Regions from separate parts of the Homo sapiens genome. Here regions 2, 3, 4, 5, 6 and 7 are each linked to region 1. Evidence: promoter capture Hi-C in 16 types of primary human blood cells and fetal thymus (Javierre and others, 2016). All regions are on one chromosome and are shown on one strand. Each heading gives the region's core, a stretch centred on a gene start or on the middle of the fragment in contact. The rest is flanking DNA. Distances are from core to core; before and after follow the strand shown.

Region 1 (4,049 bases), core at 453-2,952:
CTAGGTATATCCCTAAAAGAAAGAAAATCAGTATATTGAGAGATGTCTGCACTCCTGTGTTTACTGCAGCACTATTCACAACAGCTAAGATTTGGAAGCAACCTAAGTGTCCATCATCAGATGAATGGATAAAGAAAATGTGGTATATATACACAATGGAGTACTATTCAGCCATAAAAAATGAATGGGATCCTGTCTGTCTTTGCAACAACATAGTTGGAACTGGAGGTTATTACGTGAAGTGAAATAAGCCAGGCACAGAAAGACAAACTTCACACATCCTCACTTATTTGTGGGAGCCTAAATGGAAACAATTGAACTCATGGAGACAGAGAGTAGAGGGATGGTTACCAGAGGCCAGGAAGGGTAGTGGGGGGACTTGCAGGGGAGGAGTGGGGATGGTTAATGGGTACAAAAAATAGTTAGAATAAGACCTAGTATTTCATAGCACAACAGGGTGACTATAGCCAATAATAATTTAAGTGTACATTTAAAATAACTAAAAGTATAATTGGATTGTTTGTAACACAAAGGATAAATGCTTGAGGCAATGGATACCCCATTTACCCTGATATGACTATTATGCATTGTATGCCTGTAGCAAAATATCTCATGTACCCCATAAATGTATACACCTACTATGTACCCACAAAAATTAAAAATTTTAAAATAAGTAAATAAAAAGTTTTTTAAAGGTCTTGAACTTTCGGGCTTCTGCCTAACTTTACTACTAGTGTAAGTGGGCCCCTTGAGATTTCAGCACCCCAGCATTTGTTAGTGACTGAAATAATGAAAATTCTGATCAGGCCCTTGCTTGCACATGTTGACAACTCTCTTTTTGCCCAATATCCCTTGTTCCTACAACATAATCATAAACTGCTGATGTACTGTTTCTTTATCAAGCAGGAGGAGATAATAACTTCAGGGTTACGAAAAAGTTTGCAGGAGGAATAAGTCCTTTGAAGTACTTTGAGGCCAGCTTCTGTCGCCCAGAAGTCTGATTGTTCAAGGAATTATCTGAGACTGAAGAAACACAGACTTTTTCCCTCGATTCCCTGAAACTCCCCCTCCCTGACTCGCTGGCCGCATAAACACTCTCTGCTTCTTCTTTTTGTTAGGGCGGATTTGAGAGATCTTGCCCTCCCGCCTTCTCGCTTTGGCCAAATCGAATAAACTTTTATCTCCAAGCACCTATATGTCAGTGTTTGGCATCAGCTACACATGGGGTACACGAGCCTGAGTCTGGGCTTCTACAACGCTGGGACCCTCGCTGTTCTTTGGAGCTGATGGTAAATTCAACAGAAAAGAGGCGCATGGGTAGAAAATGCAGCATTTCCTCTCAGATGCCAGATATTCATCTCCAAAGGTATTAAAAGGAGGGGGTGTGTGCCTGTGTAAAGAGGCTGGTCTTTTCCTAGCAGTACGATTTGGGCAAGTTGCTTGATTTCTTCAAGCCTTTCTTTTTCCGCCTGTCAAACAAAACAAAACAAATATCCCGTTTAGGACAAATTCACAATCCTTAAAGAGGGCAGGCAGAGCGATTGGAATGCAGATGAACCAATCCCTTCTCCTGCAGGTTGCGGAGCTGCAGAGGGACCCCGCCCCCTGCATTGTGCTTAGCTCTGATTGGCGCCTCGCGGAGGGGGCGGGGCCTGGGCGCGCCGAGCTCCGGCTGGGTCCCTGCAGGTCTTGGGGCCCGGGACTCTTCCTGGAGACACCGCCATGGCCGGGCTATCCCGCGGGTCCGCGCGCGCACTGCTCGCCGCCCTGCTGGCGTCGACGCTGTTGGCGCTGCTCGTGTCGCCCGCGCGGGGTCGCGGCGGCCGGGACCACGGGGACTGGGACGAGGCCTCCCGGCTGCCGCCGCTACCACCCCGCGAGGACGCGGCGCGCGTGGCCCGCTTCGTGACGCACGTCTCCGACTGGGGCGCTCTGGCCACCATCTCCACGCTGGAGGCGGTGCGCGGCCGGCCCTTCGCCGACGTCCTCTCGCTCAGCGACGGGCCCCCGGGCGCGGGCAGCGGCGTGCCCTATTTCTACCTGAGCCCGCTGCAGCTCTCCGTGAGCAACCTGCAGGTGAGCTGGGGCCCGCGGCTTCCCCAGGCGGGCTGTGGGCGGGGCGGCCACAGAGCGAGCCTTCACTCTCCCCAGAATTCTTCCCGGGAAGTGGAGCGTGGCTCGAACGGCTGTTGCTTCTCTGCCGCGCAGGCAGGTAGGTGGGCGTTGCAGCGTCCCAGATGTTGGGCAGCTGGGTACCAGGAATTTCCCACAAGCCTCCGCCACTGGGCCACGCACCTGGGGTAAATTCTCTGCCAGCAGCCCGAGGACTTCTCATCCGTGAGTGGTTCTCAGTCGTCTTGGGGCCCAGTGTCTCTATTAACTGTGCTCCTATTCTCTTTTTTTTTTTTTTTCCCTTTGAGACAGAATCTCACTTTGTGGCCCAGGCTGGAGTGCAGTGGCGCTATCTCAGCTTACTGCAACCTCTGCCTCCCAGGTTCAAGCGATTCTCGTGCCTCAGCCTACCGAGTAGCTGGGATTACAGGTGCGTGCCACCACACCCGGCTAATTTTTGTATTTTTAGTAGAGGCGGGGTTTCACCATGTTGGCCAGGCTGGTCTCAAACTCCTGACCTCACGTGATCCACCCATCTCAGCCTCCCAAAGTGCTGGGATTACAGGCGTGAACCACCGCGCCCTGCCTGGGCTCCTATTCTTAAAGGTTTTACAGGGCATAGAGATTGTTAGGTACTTAAGCACTTTAATATGTGACTTCAGGGTTTCTCACTCTCTTACCCTTCCTGAATTAAGCTTTTCCCTCCTGCAGCAAGACGCTAACGTACAATATCATGGACGATTACAATGATTACTGCAGTCTTTAGGCCTCCACAGGCATAGTGGCTCCTCAGTAAGATGCAGAGCTGATTGAAGGTGTATCTCTTCCTCGCCCTTTGCCCACCTTCTGGTGCAGGGCCACACTTACAACTCTGATGGATCTCTGCTGTCTCAGGGATGGGGTCACAGACACCCAGCTTGGGAGGCCGGAGACACACAGAGTCCAGGAATGGAGCCTGATTTGATGGAGGGTCTTTTTGACAAAGCTCTCACATTTGAGTTCAACTCTGAAAGTACAACATTGTTGATAAAGACAGGATGCAAGAAACTGATGCTTGATTAATCACTTTTCCATTTGCCTTCCATTCGTTGTCTCTTCTATTAATTCTTTGAAGTAGGTATTATATACCCCATTCTGCAGATGAAGAACTTGAGGCCTACCTAGGTTAAGTAACTTGTTTAAAGCCAGCGGGCAAACCCCTAGTTTCATCTCAGGTTCATCTTTCTTCAAACCACCTATCACAGGCTGGTGGCCCATCAGCTGAATATGTCCCACAGACCGGTTTGGCCTACACAAAGTTCTGTTTTGTTTTTAATAAATTTGAATTTGTTACCAACATTTTAAAATTTAGATTTTACTTTAAAATGTAAATCTCTAACTTTTCTTGAAAAATGGGAAGATCCAGTGACACTGTGGGCCTGCACTCTTTGAGCAAAAACAGAAGCAGTGCCCTCTTTTAGCTAAGGCAGATACACCCCAGTTCACCATTTTCTTATTCCCAGCCCATTCCACACCTTTAGGCGTTTGCTCAAAACAAACTCACTCCACTCCATCAGTGGTGCTCAACTTTGACTGCAAATCATAGTCACCTAAGAAGGCTTTAAAAATGGGATGCCAAGGTATTTTATTGAAAGCACATTTTATTTTAAGACAACACCCCTTCCCGCCTCCCCACAAACCACTCCCTGATGATTCTAATGGGGGAGGAGGGAGATTGACCAATACATAATCATATTTAAATTTGTGAGGTGACTAGGGAGTTGCTGGTATTATTGTCCCCATTTAGGAAGTGAGGAAACACAGACTCAGAGGTGCAGGGACTTACCCTGTGACCAGTCAGCTAATGGCTGTCAGGTAGGACATTAGCCCAGGTCTTTCATGTTTCTAGAAATAGACAGGGCAGTGGCAAGGAACCTACCCAGGGCTTTAGGTTTCCA
Region 2 (4,049 bases), core at 831-3,330, 710 kb after region 1:
TGGCTCACTGCAACCTCTGCCTCCTGAGTTCAAGCCATTCTCCTGCCTCAGCCTCCCTAGTAGCTGGGATTAGAGGCACAAGCCACCATGCCCCTACTTAATCAAGGAGAATATGGGCTTGGAGAGGTCTCATTTCCAGGCTAATGTCATAGCCAATAAATGGTGGGGTTGCGTTTTGGGGCCACCACCGCCTGACCCCAAGGATCCAGCAATACCGAGCACAGCTGCCTCCCTGATGACTAACCCTCAACTCTCCCCAGCTCTGTGCTCCACTTGTACTCAGCTGTGTGCAGTTCCCTGAACAACCATTCCCCAACGCCCCCACACCTTGGCCCATATTCTCCCCTGGCCTTGGAGGGCCTCCCCTTTCTTGGTCTGGCTGACACCCACCCATCTTCCAGGACTCAGCCCAAAATCCCTGCTCCCGAGGAAGCCCACTCTGTGCCACGCTGTGAGCACACCCACATGTCCCTGAAATGTCCTGGGCTCCACACTCCCGGGGCACTCATCACACTGCAGAATTCTTTTGGTTGACTTGTCTGCTCCCTCCACTAGAATCTGAGCTTGTTGAAAGCAGGACCTGTACTTACTCCTTTTTGCTTCCCTAAGCCGAGGACACTTCCTGTAGCTAGTAGTCACTGAAAAATGTGCTTTTGAATATACGATCTAGGCAAATCTCTGGATTTCCCTTCTCTTGTTCTACTTGGAACTGTTTCAAAGAATCATTAAATTTTATCTGTCATAAAACCAAACCTACTCTTTGGAGTAAGAATGGACAAACATCCCTAAGTGTGAAATATGAGGAGGTAAAATGGATTCGTCTTCAGGCTTTCCTCAGACTTCCTCACCCTGGAAAGCCAGTCAGCCCAGGAATTTTCCACCCTACTCCTTTCCCAATTCCCAGGCTTTTAAAGAACTGTCTCTTTGGCCTTTTTTTCTCCCTGGGAAGTTCCAGATCTAGGTCATACCTATTTATAGTCCCTTTCCCTTTGCTGATAAAATGGGAACAGGACTGTCTATGCCTGTCATTTCAGAGGGGCCATCAATACTCTTAGGGGGGGTAACATATTCTAGGCCTGGTAAAAACATCAGGTACCAGGAGCCCTGAAGCTGCAGGAAGAAAGCTGGGGGCTGGTGCAGGATTCATCTCTTCCTATTAATGACTGAGCCACGGAGGATCTTCAAACAAGCCCACATTATGCTCCAGAGGCACAGTGTAGTGGCTTAGACATTCTCCTCACAGCAAGCCTCTGTGAGAATGGAGCGATCCTTCAGCCAGGCCCTGCTGCGCAGGCCTCCCCTCGCTCCACAGAGGCCTTTTATCTGGCTCAACATAGCAGAAGGTAAACAGGGCCGGCCCCGGGCAAAACTGAGAAGTCAGGCAGTCTGTGTACCACCTCCAGACACCCCTCCTTGGCCTTGCAGGTAGGGACCTTCAGTCCCTGCCCTCCTCCCTTTCCTCAGAAGATCAAGGGCTCACTGGATAAGTGTTCTTCCTCTAGCTTGTGTGCACTGCCTTGCTCTGCTCAGGAAGTTGGCATTCCAATGCTATCTCAAAGGGTAAATGTTGTAAAGTGCTTACACCTTGCACAGCCTCGCTAAAGCCTTGCAGCCACCCAGCAAAGACGCAGGGATCTCGGGGGAAGGGGTTGGGGTAGTTTGTACTGATCCACTGATGGAGTGCCTGCTATGGGCCAAGCACTGTATAGGACACTCAATCATATAAATATATTCTCTCACTGAATCCGCTAAACTAGGGACATGGGGATCACTACCTCACTTTTATGGGTAAGGAAACAGAGTGGTTAAGTAACTTGTCCAAGGTCACAGAGCTAGAAAGTCTGATGCCAAAGCTTTGCTTTCTTAGCAGGCCACTCAGGCCTTAGCATGGTGGCTGTAGAGAGCCTGAGGCCTCCCTTAGAAAGATGGGCTAAGGCCTCATTCCACAGAGCTAAGGAGAAAGCTCAAACTCGCTGGCGTAGCACTGCATGTCCTCCTGGCTGGCTCTGGCCCCTGGCCTGGCCTCCTATACCTGATCCCCTTCCACTCCCTGCCATGAGTTTCAGGTTCCAGCTGCAGGAGCTGCTCCTAACTCTGCACCCAAGCTCCTCTCCTCAGTGCTTTTGCCTGTGCTGTCCTCTTGCCTGGAATGCAACCCCCTTCCCTTCCCTTGGCTGATTCCATAATGACTAAGACTCAGTTCAAAGCACATTTTTTATTTTTTCTACTTAAAATTGTATTTCTATTTCAATTCTATGGAATTTTATCCTAATATATTATCATAGTTCTTATGCTTGAAAAGCTTTCACTGATCACCCTAACATAATTCTCTATAACCAAAATACATATTTTAAAAACAGATTCTTTTCTTCTAATGCTCTAGAGCAGGGTTTCTCAACCTCAGCACAACTGACATTTTGGGCCAGTTACCTCTTTGTTGTGTGTGTATGTGTGTGTGTGTGTGGTGGTGGGGGGGCATCCTGTGCACTGTAGATATCTAGCAGCTCCCCTGGCTTCTATCCACTAGATGCCAGGAGGATCTCCCAGTCCCCAACGCACCCCCACCAAGTCAGACCAACAAAAGTGTTTCCAGATATTGCCAAATATCCAGGGGTGGGGAAAGGGGGTAGTGTTTCTAGATGTTGCCAAATGTCCAGGGGTGGGGGCAAAATTGCTCACTGCTCAAGATTAGGCCTTGTCCAGGAAGCCCCGGAGTTCTCAGCCTGAATGAGGCATCCCCTCATCTTGGCTCCTGGTGCATCCTTGCAGACTTCCACCACTGCACTCTGCACACTGTGCTTACTATTACTTATGTTTACTTTCCTGCCTTGCTCACAAGACTGGAAATTCCATCAGGAAAAGAGTCTCTCTTTACGCCCAGCACTGTGCTTGGTAACTGTGGATGGATGGCTGATTGCCTGGAGGCCACAAATGCCCAATCCCCAGCACCACCAGCTGCTGGACTCCCTCCTCCAGCCCTTCTGGTTACTTCCTTCTTTTCCCACCTAAGCATGGTTGGTCTTCATCTTGCTCCTTCCTCACTGTCCCAACATTCACTTTCATTGCACCTGTTCTCCAAGGCTCTCCATTTAGATGTTCTGGGTTGACCAATCTAGCCTCAAAGCCCTGAGTTTTGACTGCCTTGAGTTCTTGTTCCAGGCTAAATAGACCTGACGCCTGCTTGGATCAGAATTGGGAAGAAGGATGTGGTGGGCAAAGAACACTGATGAGACAAAGGCAGCGCGGTGTCCACAGCTAGACTGGCAAACTGAGAGCCTGTGGTTGCACTGTTTTTTTTTTTTTTAAATTAAGGTATAGCATACATATGGTAAAATGCATTACTTTTAAGGGTGCAGCTCAGGAGACCTGTTTTGAAGAACAAATGTCAGTGTTCATGTGTAACCTTAGGGCAAGGCAGATAATCTTTCTGCATCCCAGTTCTCTCCTCTGGTAGGGAACAATTTAGAAGTACCATGCTTGTATGGATAGGGGCTCTTCATGGAAGCAAAGGATACTATGTATACTGACAATGTTTATACACAACGGAAAATAAGCAGAGAAAAGGAATGTCAATTTGTTGCTTATTTAAAATGTTTACTATTCATGCCTAATTACCACGAAGTCCAGTAACTACGGTGAATAACTATCTGTAACTATAAGTATCTACTGCATTTGCATTTGTATAAACCGACCTCTATCATACTATTCTGCGTGTATACCCTGAATCTCTGTATTCCCTGCTGCCCACCATTTCTATCCAGGTCAGCTGGACAGGCAGCTCTCCTGTGTCAACTGTGGTAAGAGGTGCTCACACAGAACCAACTAGCCTAACCTCTCATGTCAACCCAATGACTCGAGTCTTATTTAAAATGGTTCCCTTCAACCAGCAGTAAGTCAACAAACATTTACTTGGTGCCTACAATGTGCCTGGCATCAAACGCAGTGCAGGATAAGTGGGTGAACGAGAGAGACAAGGTCCTGGCTTCTAGGACTTCCAATTGAACGATGACAAGCTACATGGCTGAGGGACTGTTTCCATAACACCTCCT
Region 3 (4,049 bases), core at 903-3,402, 690 kb after region 1:
GCTATAATAGTTTTGGGCTAAGTGAATCATGAGTCCAATTCTGTGACTACCTGCCAATTCCCTTTTATTTGTTTTGAGACAAGGTCTTGCTCTGTCACCCAGGCTGGAGTGTAGTGGTGTGATCATGGCTCGCCGCAGCCCTGACCTCCTGGGCTCAATCAGTCCCTCCACTTCAGCCTCCCAGGTAGCAGGGACTACAGGCATGCACCAACATGCACAGCTAAGTTTTGTATTTTTTGTAGAGAGGGAGGTCCTGCCATGTTGCCCAGGCTAATCTCGAACTCCTGGGTTCAAGCGGTCTGCCTGCCTTGACCTCCCAAAGTGCTGGGACTACAGGCATGAGCCACCGTACCGGCGAGTCCCCTTTTAGGGAGGATTTTCCTTTCTTTGTTGGTATTCTGATTCCTAGGTGTATTAGTTTGCTAGGGCTGCCATAACAAAGTACCACAGACTGGTTCGCTTAAACAACAGAAATTTATTTTCTCACAGTTCTGAAGGCTGGAAGTCTGTGATCAAGATGTTGGCAAGAGGCCTCTCTCCTATAGATGACAGCCTTCTTGTTGTGTGTTCACATGGTTATTTCTTTGTGAATGTATCTGTGTCCTAATTGCCTCTTCTTATAAGGACACCAATCATACTGGATTAGGGCCCACCCTAATGGCCTCATCTTAATTACTATTTAAAGGCCCAATCTCCAAATAGAGTCATATTCTGAAGTACTAGGGTTAAGGCTTTAACACAGGACTTTTGTGGGGGGACACAATTCAGCCCATAGAGCCAGGGAATGCAAAATTTCCTTTCCTCGGAGTTGGAGCATGTATGCTGAACTTGGGGAAGAAGCAAAATGTGTTCATGCTGTAGTCCCAGCTACTCAGGGGGCTGAGGTGGGAGGGTAGCTTAAAGCCAGAAGTTCAGAGCTCTGATTGTTCCCCTGCACTCCAGCCTGAGTGACAGAATAAAAAACCCCGTCTCTTTAAAAAAACAAAACAAACAAAAAAAACTAGAAGCAGCCAAATCTGTGGTTCTTAGTATTGTTTCTGCCTCTGCAGATACTGGGCTAACCTAAAGCTGTGGTTCAAGCAGAAGATCAGCAAAGAGGAGTTTGACCTTGAAGCTCATAGACTTCTCACACAGGATAATGGTAAAATAATTATCTGCAGAGTTATTTTACTATTCTGTAGTTTTCCTAGATTTGTAGTAAAGTCTTTTCCCTTTTTAAAAAGTAAAATTTTGGTTTTGTGGTGTATAAGGTTATCTTAATAATGTGGATACTTTAAGTATAAAGCATGGCAGAATAGGGGATATCCAAAATCTTGAGAAGCTAGACCAAAGTTGTGGTTTCCTTATGTTGAAAATGTTTTGAATTTGATTGTCACTATCTTTCCTTTTTCAGTCCATTCTCACAATGATTTCCTCCTGGCCATTCTCACGCGTTGTCAGATTTTGGTTTCTACACCAGGTAAGGGAGTGGAAATACTTCCAGTGTGTGTAAGTCAGCAAAGCACTAGACTTTAGCTTTCTCTAATAGACACAGCTAGTGTTTGTAAAGCAGATGTTTTTGAACTACTCAGAAGAAAAGTTTTATTAGGTAGATACAAATTCTTTTACAGAATCTTTTTTTTTTTTTAAAGCAGAAACTCTTTATTTTTAAGAAAAAGGTATGATTTCTCATTTTCAGTTCTTGGCATACATTTTAATTCTTTCCAGTGGAACCCAAACCTCCTGAACCCCTTTCAGTGTCATCCAAAGCTTGAATTTCTGTTTCTGGAGAAAAAGTCTGTTCACAAATGAGCTATGCAATTTGATCACCATTTTTGACACCAAACTTTTCTTTGCCAAAATTGAATTGTACAACACCAACACTTCCTCTATAATCTTCATCTTATGATGCCAGCTCCTACATCAGTAAAGTGTTTTTCAGCCAAGCCAGATGTGGCACTACTCTTTTCTAACACCCAGAAGGAAGGACTGTCTGAATGTTTGTTTTCACAAGTGCTTTCTCCCTAGGTGGTATTGTGTAATCCTAGGCATGTCCAAGTCCTAGCCCCCGTGGACCCCTTGGTCCGGGCGTGTTATGCTGGGAGAGCTGGGCAAGGCTGCTCTGTGTGCCACCCTCCCCCGCAGGCCAGTTTGCTCAATGGGGGAAATAGTGGTGTCCCTCAGAATAGGGCTTGAGAGAGCCAGAAGGCAAGCAAGGAGATAGCCCGGGAACAAGAGGGCGCAGGGTGAGCACCACAGCAGGGACTGCCCAAATCTACGGAGCCTTGTAAAGCAGGTTATGTCCCTGTACTTATATTACCTTTTGATATTGAGTCCCCACTCAGCTACATTTTAGATTACTTAAGTAAATGAGAAGTGAGGAAGAGGGTGGGAGATCAGGATGAAGAAGGTAAGGGAGATGAAGAGAGGGCAGTTGGTGTTAGGTGTCCTGTACCTAAGGGATACCTAACTTGAAAGGTGTCCGTAGTGGGGAGGTGGGGGAACCCAGCATATGTTGGGAACCTGGACTTCCACTATGTTCTTAGGTAAGATAGCACCTGAAAGGTCAAGCTTCAGCACCTGTGTTTCACAGATTATTGGTAGATAACAAGAGGTAGGGGATAGTAGCATGTTGAGGGGGTAGGTGGAAACGAAACCTGTCACTTTAACCTGAAGAGAAGATTAAGCTGTAAGTCACCTCTCTCAACCATCTTATTTTAATCAGTCAAAAACAAGTAATTAAATACATTGAAAACTTTCCTCATGATAAAAGTCATACTGGACTTTTTAAAAAAAATTAGGCCAAATGATTTATTCAGTAGTTTTTATATTTCTAAATTGCAATTTATATCTATTCATAAGACTACAAAAGTTACCATTACAATTGTGCTTACCAACTCCTGTTGTAGATTAAATTGAAATTTTTTTAAGGGCTTAGGGTGATTCTGATGATCATATATCGAAAGCTCATGTTTTATCTATAAATGGCTGGTATTTTTTAATCCTCTCTCTCTGTTTACTTCTACTGTATGATAAAGAACTCAAGCCAGGGCGTGGTGGCTCACGCCTGTATTCCCAGCACTTTGGGAGGCTGAGGCGGGCGGGTCACTTGAGGTCAGGAGTTCGAGACCAGCCCGGCCAACATGGTGAAACCCCTACTCTACTAATAATACAAAAAAGAAAATTAGCCGGGCGTGGTGGCGCACATCTGTAGTCCCAGCTACTCAGGAGGCTGAGGCATGAGAATCGCTTGAACCTGGGAGGTAGAGGTTACATTGTGCCACGGCACTTCAGCCTGGGCGACAGAGTGAAACTGTGTTTAAAAAAAAAAAAAAAAAATTCACATAAGATCTCCTAACACCTCGTTCTTTGACCCTCAAAGAAGTCGTTGTTAATGTGTAGTAAACTGTGAGCACCTGCTTGTGGGGTTGTTTTAGAGAGCAGTGACTGCCTCCCTCCCCTCACCACACTCATCACCGCACATTCTTACACTGTGTCAGATTTTTGATGTGCTATTTAATTTATATACAAGTAGACTTTAGCCATTCCTCTTTTATGTCCAAAGTTAAATCATAATCTATTTTGTTACATAAAATTTAATTTGATCAGAAAAGCCAATATTGTGAATCTTACTTTTTAGGGAAGCATATTGTAAATTGCCACATATGCCAAAGATAAATGGAGTGATCAGAAGTAAAAACCCTGGTTGATAAGAGTCAAGAGACTTAGGTTCAAGTGTAGGTTTTGCCACTAGCTTACATAATATAGTTACTTGGGCTTTCAAATTTATAAAATAAGTACAGCAATATCTACCCCGTAGGATTATGAAAAAACAGATGAAAGAACTTATAAAAAAGTGATTTTAAAAATAAAAAATGCCAGCCAGACACAGTGGCTCATGTCTGTAATCCCAGCGCTTTGGGAGGCCAAGGTGGGTGGATCACCTGAAGTCAGGAGTTCAAGACCAGCCTGGCCAACATGGTGAAACCCCGTCACTACTAAAAGTACAAAAATTAGCCAGGCATGGTGGTAGGCACCTGTAATCCTGGGTACTAGGGAGGCTGAGGCAG
Region 4 (4,049 bases), core at 763-3,262, 660 kb after region 1:
TTTCTTCCTGTGGTATGTTGGGCTGCGCTTGAGACCCCATCTGAAAAGGACAGTTTCTGTTTCTGTAAACAGCATAAAAATGGAGAATGTAAAAACACTATGATGGAGTTCTTGGTGGACAGAAATCTCTGTAGATGAGGAAAATAACATATCAGCCATGGGGAAACTGATGGAGATTTGGGCGGATCTTGTTTCAGGCCCAACTCCTTCCCTTACCTACTGACTGAAGGTGCACAAGTCACCAATCTCTGCAAGCCTGTTCTTGATGAACGGAATGAGAAAGCACTTGGGTTGGATGATCTTAATGCTCTCTTTTACTTTTGTGATTTAACAAAGCCCCACAGCAAATGAATTATTTTTAGCCTTGGTTGTCTAGGTGAAGCAATTCAGCAGCTGTCTCTTGTATGCTTTCATTTATTACCTTGTTTAAAATAGTTATTGTTTACAGTAATTTTTATTTCATTATGGTGCTGGGATTTTCAGTTGCTCCTCTCTAGATCTACTGCATGCTGTGCTCTGCAGACTGCCTCTTTTGTGCTTCCTTGCCATTTCAGTTTGGCCAGTGGAAAGTACTGGAAGGAGATCAGTGGGCAGGAGGAGAGAGAGGCCAGGGTATTTCTTCTCCATTCCTTCCCTGCCATACTAGTTTCCTGGGACTGTCATAACAAATTGCCGTGAACTGGGTAGCTTAAAGTAACTGAAATTTATTCTCTCACAGTTTTGGAGACCAGAAGTCCAAAATCAAGGTGCCAACAGGGCTAGCTCCTCTTGAAGGCTCTTAGAGAACATCCCTCGCACACCTCTTCCCTAGCTTCTCATGGCTGCTGGCAATCCTTGGCATTCCGTGGTTTGTAGACACATTACTCCAATCTCTGCCTTTATGTTCACATGACTTTTCACCTTGTATCTTTCTGTGTCTCAAATCTCCTCCTTTCTCTTATAAGGACACAAGTAGTTGGTGTCCACCCTAAATGCAGGAGGACCCGTTAAGCCCATCCAAAATCCAGGATGATCTCATCTTGAAATCCTTAAATACAATTGCAAAGACCCTATTTCCAAATAAGGTGAAATTTACAGGTACCAAGGGTAAGGACTTGGACATATCTTTTGGGGGCCACAATTTAATCCACTACATCTGTCCTGATGTCATCTCTCTGATGAAAGCAGAGACATCTAGAGGAGTGATATATCTTCCATAATTCAATTCTCATGAGTAACACTCTTCTCTTTGTCCCTTTTGCCCTAGGAATAGTAATAGTTTCCCTTTATTAGCTAGACTCTGAGTGTCACAGAGACCCTGTGATAAGAGATTAAATTGTTAAGCATGCTTCTAGTCAAAAATAATAGGCTGGGCACAGTGGCTCATGCCTGTAATCCCAGCAATTTGGGAGGCCAAGGCGGTGGATCACCTGAGGTCAGGAGTTTGAGGCCAGCCTGACCAACATCTCTACTAAAAATACAAAAATTAGCCAGGCATGGTGGTGCATGCCTGTAATCCCAGCTACTCAGGAGCCTGAGGCAGGAGAATCACTTGAACCTGGGAGGCAGAGGTTGCAGTGAGCCCAGATCACGCCATTGCACTCCAGCCTGGGTGACAGAGCGAGACTCCATCTCAAAAATGATAATAATAATAATAATAATAATAGTAATAGCATAAGAATAAATTTGTATTCCTGGAAAATAACTGACAAAAAGTGAAAGTGAGCCTGGACATAGAGTTCATAAAGATGAAGCTAGGCAGGAAGGTAGAGTGAATTTTATATTTTTCTTTGAAGAAGAATCATCTTATATTTGATTCACTTTTTCTGAGCATTTCTCAGAGTTCACTTGTTAGAATTTAGTGGGAAAATAAGAAGTAACAGTCATTGTGAGGTAAAGACTCTGAATTTAATGTCATATCAAAAAATAGGTCTAATATATAAGAATTATCTAGGATTTTTAAAAAAGCTCTTGATTTTGTACTTTAATATTGATATACTAAATTAGAATCCATAGATATGTTCTACATATCTTTACACCAAACTCTTAACACACAAGGGATTAATTTATGAATATTTGGAGTAAGACAGTCTTGGTTCGTGTTCCCCAAAAGGCATACCCTGAAATAAGGATTTGAGGAAAGTAGTTTATTGTAGAGAGTTTATTGGGAAAGTGAGACAGGGAAAGGAAGGACGTCAATAAAGAATACATCGTTAAGGCAGTTATCATTTCCTGCAACTGGAGCTCAATCCAGATGGGTGAATGTGGGAGGCTATATAGGAATGTCTCCTTCACCTGAGTTGAGAGGTGAGGAATCTGGACTAGTTATTCCTCAACTCCTTGCCCATCTTCAGTTGAGAACTGCTTCTGAGGGCATGACTCTCCAGAACTTCTGGCTTATCCTTTTTTGCCGGGCTGAAGAAAAGTCCTCAGGCAGAACTTTTGGATATTCATGGTGACAGCATTGGCTTATAGAGGTGAATGTGAGGGGGATATAAGTGGGACACTGGCAGCAGCTGCTCAAGAAATTTATGTCATTAAAGAAAAAGACAAAACCAAAAATACACACATCCTGGCAATGTGGCAAACTCTATTATATATCCCTAAATCTTCCTTCTGTCTCTGTCCTTGCCGTTGCTACATTGTGGGCAGAGTGTAATTCACCACCTCCATGACTCGTGTTGTCCAATGGAAGGTTAAGAGACATGATAATAGCAGATATTTTAAATGACCTGCATGCAGGAGGTTTCTTGTGACCTCCTGTGCCTCAGTCGTCTCTGCTTTTACTTAGAATTCCACTTTAGGGAATCAGTCCTACAAAAATACATGCATACAAAAATTAATTATGTAAAATTATGGTCATTGCAGAATTAATTGTAAAGGCCAAAAAAATAGAAATAACATTATAATATAAGAATGGGTAAATAAGTTACAGCATATTCTTACTGTAAAATTTTATGCAGTATGTCCTTAAATGGAAAGATGTGAATAATATAAAAATTTGGAAAAGCAAATTTCAGAACTATATATAATCCCCATTTTTTAACAACAGAGATGATAATTATGCATATTCAAAGATACATATTTGCATCTTTCTTATATACATATAGAAAAAACTGAATGTAAAATATATCTTTGGGCATTGCAGTTGAGGGAAGTAAAGGAAACCCCTGCTAATAGTTCTTTTAAATGTCATACATGAAACATGTATCAGATGAAAAAAAGAAATTTTTATTTCAATAGGTTTTTGGGGAGCAGGTGGTGTTTGGTTACATAAATAAGTTCTTTAGTGGGGTTTTCTGAGATTTTGCTGCACCCATCACCCTGACAGTATACACTGTACCCAATGTATGATCTTTTATCCGTCACCCACCTCCCCCACTTCCCATTCCCAAGTCCCCAAAATCCATTGTATCATTCTTATGCCTTTGCATCCTCATAGCTTGGCTCCCTTTAAGATGAAAAATTTGATGAGCCAAAGATACAAAATGAAAGTAAAAGGTTTTTTCCTTGTCTTCATACCAGTCTCCATACCACAGATAACTAATTTTGTAATTTATTCTAAAAACTCTTTTAATGCATATGTTCACACCATATATGTATCTGTCTGTTCTTATAAAAATGTTACATGTGGTACTGCAACTTGTTCTTTTGACTCTTGAGGTCACAGAACTACCTCAGTCTTTTCACAGAGGCATCCTTATTCCATCATACAGGTTTACTGTTATTTAGTTAACTTGCCCCCACTTATGAATACTGGGTGTTTCCAGTCTTTTGCTGTGGCAAAACAATGTAGCAATAAATATTCTTGTACATATATTTTGCTAAACATTTGCAACTATATCTATTGTGTAAATTTCTGCCAGAGGGATTACCAGTGAAAGGAGATGTGCATTTTAAATTCTGAAAGATATTGTCAAATTATCCTCCAGAAAGAACACACCAATGCACATTTCCACCAATGACTTAGGAAAGTGTTCATTTTCCCTTTAGGTTTGTCGCATTACGTGTCATTAAACATCTATATTTGCGAAAGAGGTGAAAAGAGTCTTATTTATTAATTGTTGTTT
Region 5 (4,049 bases), core at 753-3,252, 640 kb after region 1:
GATTTTTTTTCATTCTATGCCCCATATTGTTTAATCTATATTTTGTATTTCCTCTCTCTGTGTTTTCTATTCCCTATTCAGGTAAATTTCTTCAGGTTTATCTTCCAGCTCACTAATTTTCTTTTCAGCTAGCTCTAATCTCCTTTATTTGAGTTTTAATTTTAATTAATATGTATTTCATTTCTAGGAGTTTAGTTCTTTTTCAAATTTACATAGTCCCTGTTGTCTTGTGACTTACTCTTTTTTTTTTTTTACAATGCCCTCTTATTTATCTGAATATCTTAAAGATACTAACTTAAAATTTTATATCCAGTAATTCCAATATCTACAGTCTTTGTGGGTCTACTTTTAGAGTTTGTTACTTCTGCTAACTTTCACTCACAGTTTTTTGTTTCTTTATGGGTTTTATAGTTTTTTATTTTAAGCTCATGTGTGGTGCAATGCCATATTACATTGTGCCAGTCAAGAAAAACCTTTCTTGCTCCTTATCTGCCTTACATTTCTCCATAATGACTCTATATATACACAGCAACCCTGGGGAAGCCAGGAAGAGTGAATGATTGAGTAAGGAAGAAGTAAGTGTGCTAAATGGGAAAAAATGAAAAAGGCACACATACACGCATTGTGCATTTCTTTCTAATGCAACCTGTAGACTGCAAACAAAATCTTAAGATGGGGAGGGCAAGAGGCTTTAACTTTACATATTCTTTAGAGTTTGATAATATAAGAGAATGGCTGTCTTAATTATAGACATAGACTGTTTTAGGGTTTAAGAGTGAACAGAAGGCTGTTAATTGTTAAGAGTGGCCAAATAAATTATGGATGTAGATTTCATTCAAGAGGCAAGGAAGGCCGGGCCCTGTGGCTCACACCTGAAATCCCAACAGTTAGGGAGACAAAGGTGGGAGGATAGCTTGAGCCAGGAGTTCAAGACCTACCTGGGCAGTATAGTGAGATCCCATCCTCCACAAAAAGGTAAAAATTTAAAAAGACAAGAAAAAAAAGAAGCAGCAAGGAAGGACTAGACTCATAGGATGGATTAAAATTAGGCAAAACAAATAATTCATTTTTCCCTATGATTATCTAATTCTAATCCAATTTTTATATGCTTTCATTTCAAGAAATAAGAAGTAGGCTAATTTCAGGTTCTCTTAGAAAATCTTGGCAGAGACATCCTAATCATACTCATCACACCACTTAGGTGAAAATTATATTTTCTGCTGAATTGGTTATAAGCATTTCCTGAATACTTATCAGGTGGCCTAAGATGACTCACCAAAAATGGCATGAGGTGTAGAAGTAGCTAGGAAGTTGCTTAGAGGTGAGTGAGTTGGTCTGACACGCCATCTAGTGGCACACATCCAAGAGAGTGACTCTATTGCTAACCTTCCAGTATTGGATGGAGGTGTGCCTCACATTACTTAAGGGAAAAGCTACATATGAATTTATATAGCTTATTTTAATGCTATATATGAATTTATATAGATGAATTTGGCTTTTGAAAAACAAATTAAGTGCATTAGGAATTTTTTCTTTAAAAGTGATATGTTTTTCTTACACTTTGCAAGTTTAGAACTTGCCATATTATGTTTTTGAGGCAGGCTTCTGTGGATATAATGTGGGGAAAACCATGAGGTTTTTGCTTGGGATCAAGTGGGATTTAGGTGCATGCCTTTTGTGATTTAAAGCTATTTTAAAGTGTGCTTTTAACACCATGGAATTACAATTGTTTTCTGAAGTCAGGTCAGGACTCTGATTCTGCAGAATTATGGTGAAGCCAGTTTCTCTTTAACAAGCAAAAACCGTGTCATCAAACTGTACAACCAAAGGACCTAAATAGTCCATTCCCTAGTCTTCAGCTGTACAAAGATGAATCAATCTCTCTGTCTCTTGTTCTCTCTCTCACTGTCTCTAAAAACCAAGCAGAGGAGAAAATTCCAGACATGTTAAAACACTTTACTTTTTTTTAAAACAATCCTTGCTCTCTGGAGATATTTTCTCACATTTTGTTACAAATTTTGTGTAGAAGCATAGCCACAGTGGATTTTTTCTGGCTCTTTTTCTTTCTCTGAGACGTTAATGTCCAGTAGAGCAAAGCTAGAAGGATATATATATATATATATATATATAAATATATATATTTATATATATTTATATATATATATATATATATATGTATGTATACACACACACATATATATGTCAATTTCTATTAACCTTGTTTTTGGAAAAACGCTTTGTTCAACTGAATGTAGTTAAATTATAATGGACATTAATATACAACCCCACCCTCCCAGCCTCTTTTTGTTGCTGGTATGACTTAGGCACCTAGCTTTTCTCATTCCCTCAGGCCAAGGCGATAGCCTCTTATGTTTCATTCCTTTGGCAGCTGTATTAGTAAAAAAATTTTTGGTTGCAAATGACAGGAAGATAGCTCAGACTAGCTTAAGAACAAGAAAAGGAGAAATGGAGCTCATCTATTAGAGAGATCCTGGAGTAGCTCACAGGCTGGAAGAGCTGTAGGAACTGAGAACAAACCTGGGTCTCAATGTAGTAAGATTTAAGATTCCCTGTCCATCATCCACACCTACTTGTGTTTTTACATCAATACATTTTCTCAGTGAGGATAGACTTACTCCAAAAGGCAGGAATATAGCCACTAGCAGTCTGAGAGTCACAACTTTCCAGCTCATTTGACCAAGCAGGCAAAAGGCTTTACTCATGAGAACAATCCTGGAGAAAGACTGCAGTCAACTCATATTGAGTCATGTGCCCATATCTGAGCTAATCATGTGGCCAGAGATGTGGCAAGTCTGTTTATGACCAGGAAGGTGAGACTGCGATGGACTGGATAGTGGGATAGGAAGATTTCTCCAAAGAGAGAAGAGAGTTGTTATTAATAGAAGAAGTGAGAATAGTGATGCTGGGCAGACAAAACACATACACAACACCAACAGCTATCTGCTACTGCATCCGAAAAGATTCTTTATCTGCAGCCACAGAGCCCTGAACAACCAGCCTTTCCGGCTTCCTTTTGTTGCCAATTCCCTCACACGTATTATTCCAACCCAAGGCTTCAGGGAGGCTGTTTTTACCACAGTTCAGTGACAAATCCTACCAGAGCCTTCCATATACCAGTGAATGTCCTTGGTTATACTTGTCTCGTTCTGAATTTAGAAATCCATCTCTGTGTCACTGCCTTCATTAGGACCTTTCGTCTCCTCCCTGGATTCTTCTGGTACCCTCATTTCTTGTCTCCTACTTCCTGTTGTCTCCTAATTATTCACCTTCTACTTTTTTTGTTAGAGGTTCCAGACAGTTTCAAGAAAAATACTTAATGCTGGGCAAGGTGCTTCTCCCTTCCTCTCTAAGTTCCATAGAACAGGGGACATTTTGCTTCTCTGTTGCTATGGACTGAGTGTTTTGTGTCTTCCCCAAATTTTTATGTCAAAATCCTAATCCTAATGTGATGGTATTTGGGCATGAGGCCTTTGGGAGGTGATTAGGTCAGTAGGGTGGAGCTCTTATGATGGAATTAGTGTCCTTATAAGAAGAGACAGGAGAGAGATTACTTCCTCTCTTTCTCTGCCATGTGAGGATACAGCAAGGTATCTGTCTGCAAACCAGGAAAAGGACCTTCGCCAGGAACTGAATGTATTGGTGCACTGAGCTTGGACTTCCCAGATTCTAGAACTGTGAGAAATAAATTTCTGATATTTAAGCCACCTAGTCTATGGTATTTTTGTTACAGCAGCCTGAAGTGACTAAGACACCTATCCACCTCTTCATTCCTTTCTGTATAAACAGGAAAGGAGAACTACTTGGATTCCTTGAGTGTCTGAAGTTCATCATGCCACATTTCCCAGTGTAAAGTAAGTGTTTACGCACCCCACATTCTCTTTTCTGGTCCTACACCTTTCACTTCCTGTTCTCAGGGATGGCCAGCACGTCTGTGCTTCCTTCTCTCATGTGAAGGAGAACATGTGACTTGGGCAGAGTCCTTTCTTTGCATCTCAGCTTCAGACCAAAGCGGCCTTCTCTAACATGGT
Region 6 (4,049 bases), core at 736-3,235, 630 kb after region 1:
TAGCACTGCATGCCTACACAATGCCCAGTTCCCCACTTCCCAGGCTGGAGTCTCATCCATCAGACATAACTGCCTCCAGAACAGACATAGCAGTTCTGTGGGATAATTGCATTTTAATTGAACTGTCTGTACGACTCAGTAAATGCCTTTGTAGAGATGGAAGAATGTTTAGCTTGATAAATAAAATTATTTCTGCTAATCATTGCTTCCACACAAGGATTATGGATCTAACCTCTGGGAGAAAGTGCCACTAAAAAGTGTGTGCTGAGATTCATTAATTTTTTTTCTAAGTAATTCCACAATTTGAGATGAATGTGGACTGCCCAGTATATTCTCATATAGAAAATCGGTGCACCTGCAAATGGGTGTGTGGGTGACTTCTGTTTTTAGTGCTTGGACTACAATTAGAGTGCTATGGAATTTTATATTTTAATCTTCCATGTAAATAGCTTGCGTGGGAGGGTTTTGTCCGCAGCCAGGGTAACATGGCCAGACACTATACAGCAGGGTTTTCTCTGAATTTACATGCAGTCATATGGTTTCTTTATGGTGTTTGCCCCACTTTGGGAACAGGGAATGCTGGAGTTAGGTCACTAGCTTACATCCCATTGAAAAGTCCTTAATAGCTGGAATATAGGACCATGCTGTGCAGACCATACAACCCATGGCATAGCTAAAGCAGTTCTTACTCTGGGCTTTCCTTCCTTGTTTTTCTCACCTGTCTCTTCTCACTACCTCTCTTCTTAGACTCTAGAGAGGCAAGATGCCCAAATATGGTTAAGCTTCCATCAGACTACATGGTTCCAGCCCTGGCACTGCTAAATTTTTCCTGGGCAAGTTATGAAACCCCTCTGACCCAAAATTTTCTCAAACATAAAATGTGGCTGATAACAGTACTGTTTTAGGTGGTTCTGAGGAACAAATGTCCATGTAAAGCATTTAGCACAGTACCTAGCACATTTTCAGTGCCCAGTAAGTACTGACTAATTACCATTATTTTTCAGTACCCATCCCATCATTCCCTTCTCTCTTTCGTTTTTTCCTCTTTCTCTTATCTGTAAATTAGGCCCACTGGTATCTATCACTCTTGGGGCTGGTATTGGGCTAGACTGATACTTAAGTGATATGGGGCTTAAACAGCCTTTGTCTCTGACAATATGAGTGATAGAGATGTAGGAGATGTTCTCTCTCCTGCTTTAGTTTTGTTTTTTATTAAGCCCTGAAAATAACAGCTGCTTGTAACCACATCGCAGCAGGTCAAATTAATCATGTCTAAAACACAGTATTCCTTCTCCTAAAAGGAAAATGCTAAAGAAATGAAATGGAACCATAATTAAAAATCCACATAGTTTGAATTTTGTTTTGTACTACTATGTATATGGTCTAGAAATTAATATTAGCTCTTATACACAACTCAGTTTAAGGAACTTTTGCATTATCTCCTAGGCAACTCAAAGCTTTCAGGCCAACTTTGTCAAGGCCCTTGATGTTTGAGTATCTGTAAGTTACCTGTGCTCTCACAAAGTGAAGGTGGGATCCTCAGATGCTAGAGTGACGCATGTCCTCAATCTAGAAAGTGGTCTTTTTTTAGTGTGAATATGCTCCTCCAATGGAACGCAAAAGCGCTGAGAAGATGAGCACTAAGTGGAGCTGTAAGAGGTCAAAAGATAGGAAGCAGAAGTTAACAAATGACTAAAAATAGACTGTAATGGAATTTTGTTGTTGACCTTTAGGTCCTCCATTCCAGTGGCGCCATCTGATAAAGGGGATCACAGATATGGTCCCATATGTATAAATATAGATCGTTATTTCTGGGTGATTTCAAAAAGAGTTGTTATAATTGGAAACCCTATTTTCTACTTGGTAAAATAAATGGAGGCCTCCTTCTCCTGATATTTTCCTTTTTCAGCTCACCTTCTTGTGCTTTTCTCAACAGTTCGCAAAGGTTACCGGATCCAGGCTGACAAAGAGAGAGACTCCATGAAGGTCCTGTACTATGTTGAGAAGGAGCTGGCTCAGTTTGATCCAGCCAGAAGGATGAGAGGCAGATGTGAGCATCTGTTAGTTTTCTGTGATCTGTGCATTATGCAGGAGTTAGTGTGTAAAGGGGATTTGGGGGTCACCAAACTTGGGCAGCCCTGAGCTTGCAGGCTTAGAATTAGCAGGGGTGCTGGTGACACTACTGAAGAAAGTAGCTCTCAGTACACAGAGGGGAAAAAAAGGTCTTCTGGTGTGAAGAGTAGAGCAATTCGGTAGCATCTTGGTTTATGTTGGTTTTCTCCATGGGGCAGTCAGTATTTCTGGGGCTGTGTTATCCATGCCCCATGGATAGAACCAACATTCTTTGAATATATTTTATTCAAACTTTCTTTGAATAAAGAACCAACTTTCTTTGAATATATTTTAAAAGGAGTAGAAGGGAAAGACTATTTTAATAAAGCATTCCAAATAGTCTTTCCCTTCTACTCCCTTTAAAATATATTCAAAGTAATGTCTTAAGATGTGGAAGCTTAAGTATCAGTTTTTTCCAACGTGAAGGGTGCTAGCCTTGGATAATACAACCACCAACTCGCTGCATGGAGGCCTCCTGAAAGTGAAAGAACAAGTCTGGCACGTGAATCTGGAAAAAAGGTTGTTGCTCCTCGAAGATGCCAAACAACAGAGATTAAGGGGCAAGCAAAGAGGCTGATCCTCTTGTCAAAAGAACTTTTTGAATACTAAGTCTGAGGTGGCCGGGCCCCAACCCTTAACTCACCCCCAGCCCTTGGATACTCTGCAGCTGACACAGCTGATTCTTGGGGTGGATTCCAACTTATGTATCATGGGAGGTAACATAGGGCAGGTCCCACATGGACAGGCTCATTATCAGAGGGTGCTGGCGGGTGTGGAAGTGAGGTCATTATGCTGTCTCTTTACCCTCCTCTTCTTGGAACTAACGAGAGACTTGACGGAATTGTTGGGGAAACAGTCCCAGACTAGAAGAGCTTTATTCAGATTAAGGACAACATATTCCACCCAGTTTGCAATTCTAAATTCATCCTGTCTGCGTTGTATCCATTGCTGTATCCTCCCACCACACCGACTATAAAAAGACCATTTCCAGATTGGAATGTCAGGAATGCAGATGTCACTGCACTTGACAAGCTAGTTGTAACAATGTTGTCATGGATCCCTGTAAGGGGCCAGAGACAGAGTGAGTCAGGGACCACAGAGGAGTCTGTGCAGGAAATTTGCGAATCTCACAGCTCAGAGAAAAAGTTAACAGCTAAGGTTAAAACTAAAGGAAGAATTCTGGTTTAGGTGATGTCTCCTGTCTCTCTACTTCATTAAAATGGTCTCTAGGGGCTTAATGGTCATAAGGTAATGGACTCTTAGAGTCAAAGGGGGTCTTAGAGATGGCCTAGGTTAACCTTTGTAGTGTGCAGGTGAGGAAACAGAAGCCTAGGGATGCGGTGACACAATTAGGACCAGATTCCAGCTCTTCTGATTCCCAGTCCTGTGGTCTTTCCAGAAGAAACTCTTGGGCAAACTGTGGATGGCTCCATGGCTGTAATGTGGATGGCTCCATGGCTCCATTCTGTTCAGAGACCACAGCCTTCTAGCTAGTAGGACTTTAGAATGTCAGAGCTGGAAGGGACTCTGAGGTTGTTGAATCCGTCCCCTTCACTAAGGTAGAAAGGGAAAGTAACAAGCACCAGTACTCAGTGCCAGTGCCAGAACTGGAACCCTGATCTCCTGGAACCTGCAAGTTAATATTATAACAACTGCATAGAGATAAAGTAGGAATACTGTTTACTTTGAGAAGTCCTGTTCCTGAAGAACATAGTAAACCATGGGCTGGATCATGGAACTGGGCAATCTTGAAATCTCATTATAAAATGGATCTCATGGTTTCAGGTTGGGGCAGGAGAGTAACAGATTCTGTAAGAATTGAGTTTGAGGTCCAGGCTCATGAATTTGCTAGCCAGTATGGTCCTCATTTGCTTTGCCCTTCTAAATGGTGGGGGTTGTTTAGGGGATGTTTTTAGTCTGGGAAGTTCTAGTATAGG
Region 7 (4,049 bases), core at 929-3,428, 610 kb after region 1:
TTAACCTCTCAGAGCCTCAGATCCCTGAAACATAGGGTAGAATATGGACTAGATGACCTCTAAGATCCTTTCTAGTTATAAAATCTGATTCTAGGATTCTGTGGGAATAGAAGTCAGCTCCTTAGGCCAAGCTTATAACTACTGCCAAAAACAAAAACAAAAAACAAAAAACCAACCTCAAAGCATTTATTAACAGTTAATTGTAGATGGTCCAATACTAGTTATTTTATGGATAGAATTCGGTTTCAGAATTATTCTCCTTTAAGACTATAATTTAAAGTGAACTAAAATGTAAAGGACACAGAAAGAAAAAGTAAACATATGAAATGCTTAAGAACATAGTTTATAAATATATATAAAAGAAAAGGGGGCTATATCCACATTTGTGATAGTCATAAACTATATTTATTAAATGCATGGTTACCATGGGAATATAGAATAAAAACTGGGATGTGTGTGCCCTTGGGAAATTTCCAATCTATTTGGGATTCCAAATAGCCATAGAAACAACTTAACACTTAAAAGCATAGCCATAGAAACATCTTTACATTTAAAAGGGCCAGAGAAAGGCATCTGTTCTCCTCAAAGACATAGGAGTGAAACATTTTGGAGGGTTAGGAGATGACAGAACAGGGGGTGGATACAGTACATCCCTGAAAATGGATCTAGGGCATCTGAGGAAAGCTTGAAAGTGGGATGAAGCTGAGATGTGCATTAAACATAAGGGAGAAGAGGGGAACCACACGGAGCTGGGGAAGAAAGGCATTCCTCACTGTCCTAAACAGAAAGTTCATCTGTATAGTGTGTTGGCAAACCCTAGAAGGACTCCAACTTAATAAGTTTAAAGAAATGGAGGTAACTCTGCTGTCAGCAGTGGTGTCATAAAGATAAAGGAAATGTTATACTTCCTTTTCCTAAGTTCCAATGCATTAAACAATGTGTTATCAAGTGATTGAGTAAGCAGGTTCTGAAAACAGGTTTGTCCTAAATCCTGAACTTCTTTACCTTCCATTGTAACTTTGAAGGCTTGGAAATGATTAGAGCTTGGATTTAAGTTTTAAGAGTAGAGACCAAAACAGTCTTTTTGGCTGAAAGTTTTATGTGTTATTTTATCTCTGTAATGACTTCCTCAAAAATACCCTAGGATAACTTCAAAAGTGGCAGTGGCAGAAAACAACTGAAATGGGGAATTTTATAGGTAAGATAGGTAAGTTATTTTATTCACAATGCATATTTCTACCCTGATCATTTAATCCAAAGCGTGTGAATGTGTTTAGCTCTAGAGTTTGTGACAGTATGATATGAAACTGGCACTTGTGTGTGTGCATGTACAAAGTATTAGTATGCCTGATTCGTTTGGTCTATTCAACTTTTTGGTGTGGGATAGGGTGGTGCTTTTGTCTCCTTAGATAGCAAGATGGCATTTGGGGATATTCCAATGACTGGAGAATGCTCCTGGCATTCTTCCCTGAGTTCAGAAGTGTTAAACATTGTGCAGTATATAGAATAATGCTGCATGAATAAATGAATAGTTCTTTCATATTTTCATTAAAAGCCTACTTCCACCTGAGGTTGATAAAGTCACTATAATGCGCAGCAAATCATAAGTCCAGCTAGAAACCCTGCATATTGAACAAGGGGATTTGCTATTGGAAACACTTCAAGTTCCTGATGGGTGGGTGAGGTGCCTCCTCACGCTGGGCTTCTGGAGATGCCAAGCGTAGAGCATAGTCCCTGCTCTGGAGGGGTTTCCATCTTGGTAGTGGAGGCACTCGTAAAAGTAAAGGCACATTGCAGCCACGAGATAACTGCTTTAGTGAAGGCATGTGCAGTGGTCCTAGGGAGCATGGAGGAGGAAGCACCTTCTTAGTGCAGCATTCTTACAGGGCTGTGTCAGAACATATCTCAGTCTTGTGGTCTTTGTGGTAAGGAATTGAACAAAGCAACTGAAATGCTTATCTGAGCAAAGAAAGTAAATCAAGTTTGCTTTGAGGGGGCTAACCTACCAAGAAAAAGGTGTAAAAAAACTTGGGGAAATGCCACTAGGACATAATTTGTTGTGAAATGTGCAAAGACAATGTTCTGAGTAGAAGTGGGAAACCAGGCAAGGACTAGGTCTCCAGGGAAAGGCCCCATGACCAGGCAGAACCTGATGTCAAAAATGCAAAGAGGGCTGATGAAAACTAATTTGGCGGGAAGATTTAATAGTTCTTGTGGCACAGAAGCACATAACTAAAGCTGAGTTCTGTGTGGGCTAGACTGTGAGCCTCTCAAGTGTCTCAAGGGAACACATCTTGTCCCCTGTGTCTCCACCTAGCTAAATATAAATTTCTTTGTTGAATGAATGAATGATGAATGAATAAATGAGAGACATTCCAACAGTGAGCTGGTTTGCAGGAATGTGTACAAAGAGTTCAGTTGAGGATAACTTCAAAAGTGGCAGTGGCAGAAAACAACTGAAATGGGGAATTTTATAGGTAAGATAGGTAAGTTATTTTATTCACAATGCATATTTCTACCCTGATCATTTAATCCGAAGCGTGTGAATGTGTTTAGCTCTAGAGTTTGTGACAGTATGATATGGAACTGGCACTTGTGTGTGTGCATGTACAAAGTATTAGTATGCCTGATTCGTTTGGTCTATTCATGTGGAAATTTCTTAAAAGTAATGGATTCTGCAAGATTTGGGGAAAACTGTTTGAGCGCTTACATAAAAACTGTATTTTCCTCTGATAGTTTGAGCTGTGGTTTGAAAAGAGTAAATGTGGCCTTCTATTTGCAGGGCTTGCTTTCCATCCTTTCCTCAGACATTAAAGTGACTTGTAATTGCCACTCTTAAACTGAATCCTGGAAGAATGACAGCGATTCACAAGTGTTGGTAAAGTGCTGCTGAAATCTGGAATGTATTTACTGCAATTGTTTAGACTCTGTAAGATCAGGCCTTCATTGGATATGATAGAAGAAAAGATAAAGCATTTCTAACTAGCAATAACATTTCTTAGGAATTGTTAGGGAAGAAGCTGGAAGTGGAATATTTTCAGAAATATTCAGCATAAATATTCAGCATAAATCCACTTTTTAAAATGCCTTTAGCTCCAATAAAATATAAGTAATGGTGTAAAAGCTATAGAGCCTTTTTTTTTTTTTTTTTTTTTTTTTGAGACGGAGTCTCGCTCTGTCGCCCAGGCTGGAGTGCAGTGGTGCAATCTCGGCTCACTGCAAGCTCCGCCTCCCGGGTTTACGCCATTCTCCTGCCTCAGCCTCCCGAGTAGCTGGGACTACAGGCGCCCGCCACCACGCCCAGCTAATTTTTTGTATTTTTAGTAGAGACGGGGTTTCACTGTGTTAGCCAGGATGGTATCGATCTCCTGAACTCATGATCCGCCCGCCTCTGCCTCCCAAAGTGCTGGGATTACAGGCGTGAGCCACCGTGCCCGGCCAAAGCTATAGAGCTTTGCACCGTCTCTGCTGTTGACATGATATATTGGTATTGTCTGCTCTCCCAAAACTCCTACTATGTTTTGAATTCTGAAGATATTTAATTTCACCCACTTTACTGCACATATCACCTACACTACCCTGTGGCTAACACTACACAGGTGCATTATGGGAAGGCTTCACCTTCTGAAGCATCAGATATTGACTGTTGCTTCAGGGAGAATGAGAAGCTTGATGTATGTCTTCCTGTTGGAGTGAAAAGCTTTGTGAATCACCTGTCCATATGTCTGATACACCCTTTCCTTATTTTAATTTTTTCCATTACAAAAGTAAAAAAGTCTAAAGTAAAAAAATGCAAGTTCCTTCATTGTTCTTCCATGCTGCTCATTCTAGCTCCCTAGAAATAAGAAGGGCTAGCAATTTCGTGCATAATACTATTGTTTCCAATTTTAATTTGAACATAGGTGACTAGATCTTGTATTTACTGTTATTCTGTGTGTGGAAGTAATGTTAGAACACCATCAAGGTAACCTAAACAGCCTGTGGGGAAATGCAGCTTTGTGTTTTACCATCCCATAAATTTATCTGTGTGTGTATACCCTTCAGAGGTT

What was found. The method cuts DNA at HindIII sites, captures the fragments that hold promoters and counts their contacts. A CHiCAGO score of 5 or more calls a contact.
Region 2: a fragment that was not itself captured here is called in contact with the fragment with the promoter of CREG1 in region 1 in 1 of 17 cell types (fetal thymus); the score reaches 6.6 in fetal thymus.
Region 3: a contact is called between a fragment that was not itself captured here and the fragment with the promoter of CREG1 in region 1, in 1 of 17 cell types (fetal thymus). The highest score is 5.6, in fetal thymus.
Region 4: a fragment that was not itself captured here is called in contact with the fragment with the promoter of CREG1 in region 1 in 5 of 17 cell types (fetal thymus, total CD4 T cells, total B cells and 2 more); the score reaches 8.7 in fetal thymus.
Region 5: a contact is called between a fragment that was not itself captured here and the fragment with the promoter of CREG1 in region 1, in 9 of 17 cell types (total CD4 T cells, fetal thymus, non-activated CD4 T cells and 6 more). The highest score is 11.7, in total CD4 T cells.
Region 6: a contact is called between a fragment that was not itself captured here and the fragment with the promoter of CREG1 in region 1, in 4 of 17 cell types (total B cells, activated CD4 T cells, total CD4 T cells and 1 more). The highest score is 8.2, in total B cells.
Region 7: a fragment that was not itself captured here is called in contact with the fragment with the promoter of CREG1 in region 1 in 1 of 17 cell types (fetal thymus); the score reaches 7.3 in fetal thymus.

The regions. Positions count from the first base shown.
Region 1 is chr1:167,551,415-167,555,463 of GRCh38, reverse strand. CREG1 (cellular repressor of E1A stimulated genes 1) reads left to right here and starts at 1,702. Exons shown (of 4, transcript NM_003851.3): 1 at 1,702-2,076. The coding sequence starts at 1,723. RefSeq lists a silencer at 1,564-2,013. The HindIII fragment of the contact is 3,087 bases long and covers 1-2,809 here.
Region 2 is chr1:166,841,259-166,845,307 of GRCh38, reverse strand. All of the region lies in intron 2 of POGK (pogo transposable element derived with KRAB domain), which reads right to left. Among named protein-coding and RNA genes, the nearest start is that of POGK, 3.8 kb to the right of the region's middle. The HindIII fragment of the contact is 449 bases long and covers 1,856-2,304 here.
Region 3 is chr1:166,866,855-166,870,903 of GRCh38, reverse strand. It overlaps TADA1 (transcriptional adaptor 1), which reads left to right. Exons shown (of 8, transcript NM_053053.4): 2 at 1,050-1,141; 3 at 1,394-1,459. It also overlaps the pseudogene DUTP6. Among named protein-coding and RNA genes, the nearest start is that of TADA1, 7.4 kb to the left of the region's middle. The HindIII fragment of the contact is 801 bases long and covers 1,752-2,552 here.
Region 4 is chr1:166,889,665-166,893,713 of GRCh38, reverse strand. No RefSeq gene overlaps it. Among named protein-coding and RNA genes, the nearest start is that of TADA1, 15 kb to the right of the region's middle. The HindIII fragment of the contact is 6,086 bases long and covers 1-4,049 here.
Region 5 is chr1:166,907,863-166,911,911 of GRCh38, reverse strand. ILDR2 (immunoglobulin like domain containing receptor 2) reads left to right here. Exons shown (of 10, transcript NM_199351.3): 10 at 1-3,725. Among named protein-coding and RNA genes, the nearest start is that of TADA1, 34 kb to the right of the region's middle. The HindIII fragment of the contact is 9,574 bases long and covers 1-4,049 here.
Region 6 is chr1:166,925,068-166,929,116 of GRCh38, reverse strand. ILDR2 (immunoglobulin like domain containing receptor 2) reads left to right here. Exons shown (of 10, transcript NM_199351.3): 7 at 1,937-2,050. It overlaps LOC124904449 (a long non-coding RNA gene), which reads right to left and starts at 1,946. Exons shown (of 3, transcript XR_007066714.1): 1 at 1,510-1,946. RefSeq lists an enhancer at 3,753-3,912. The HindIII fragment of the contact is 1,052 bases long and covers 1,460-2,511 here.
Region 7 is chr1:166,942,602-166,946,650 of GRCh38, reverse strand. All of the region lies in intron 3 of ILDR2 (immunoglobulin like domain containing receptor 2), which reads left to right. The region is part of intron 1 of LOC124904449 (a long non-coding RNA gene); the gene reads right to left. Among named protein-coding and RNA genes, the nearest start is that of ILDR2, 31 kb to the left of the region's middle. The HindIII fragment of the contact is 2,984 bases long and covers 687-3,670 here.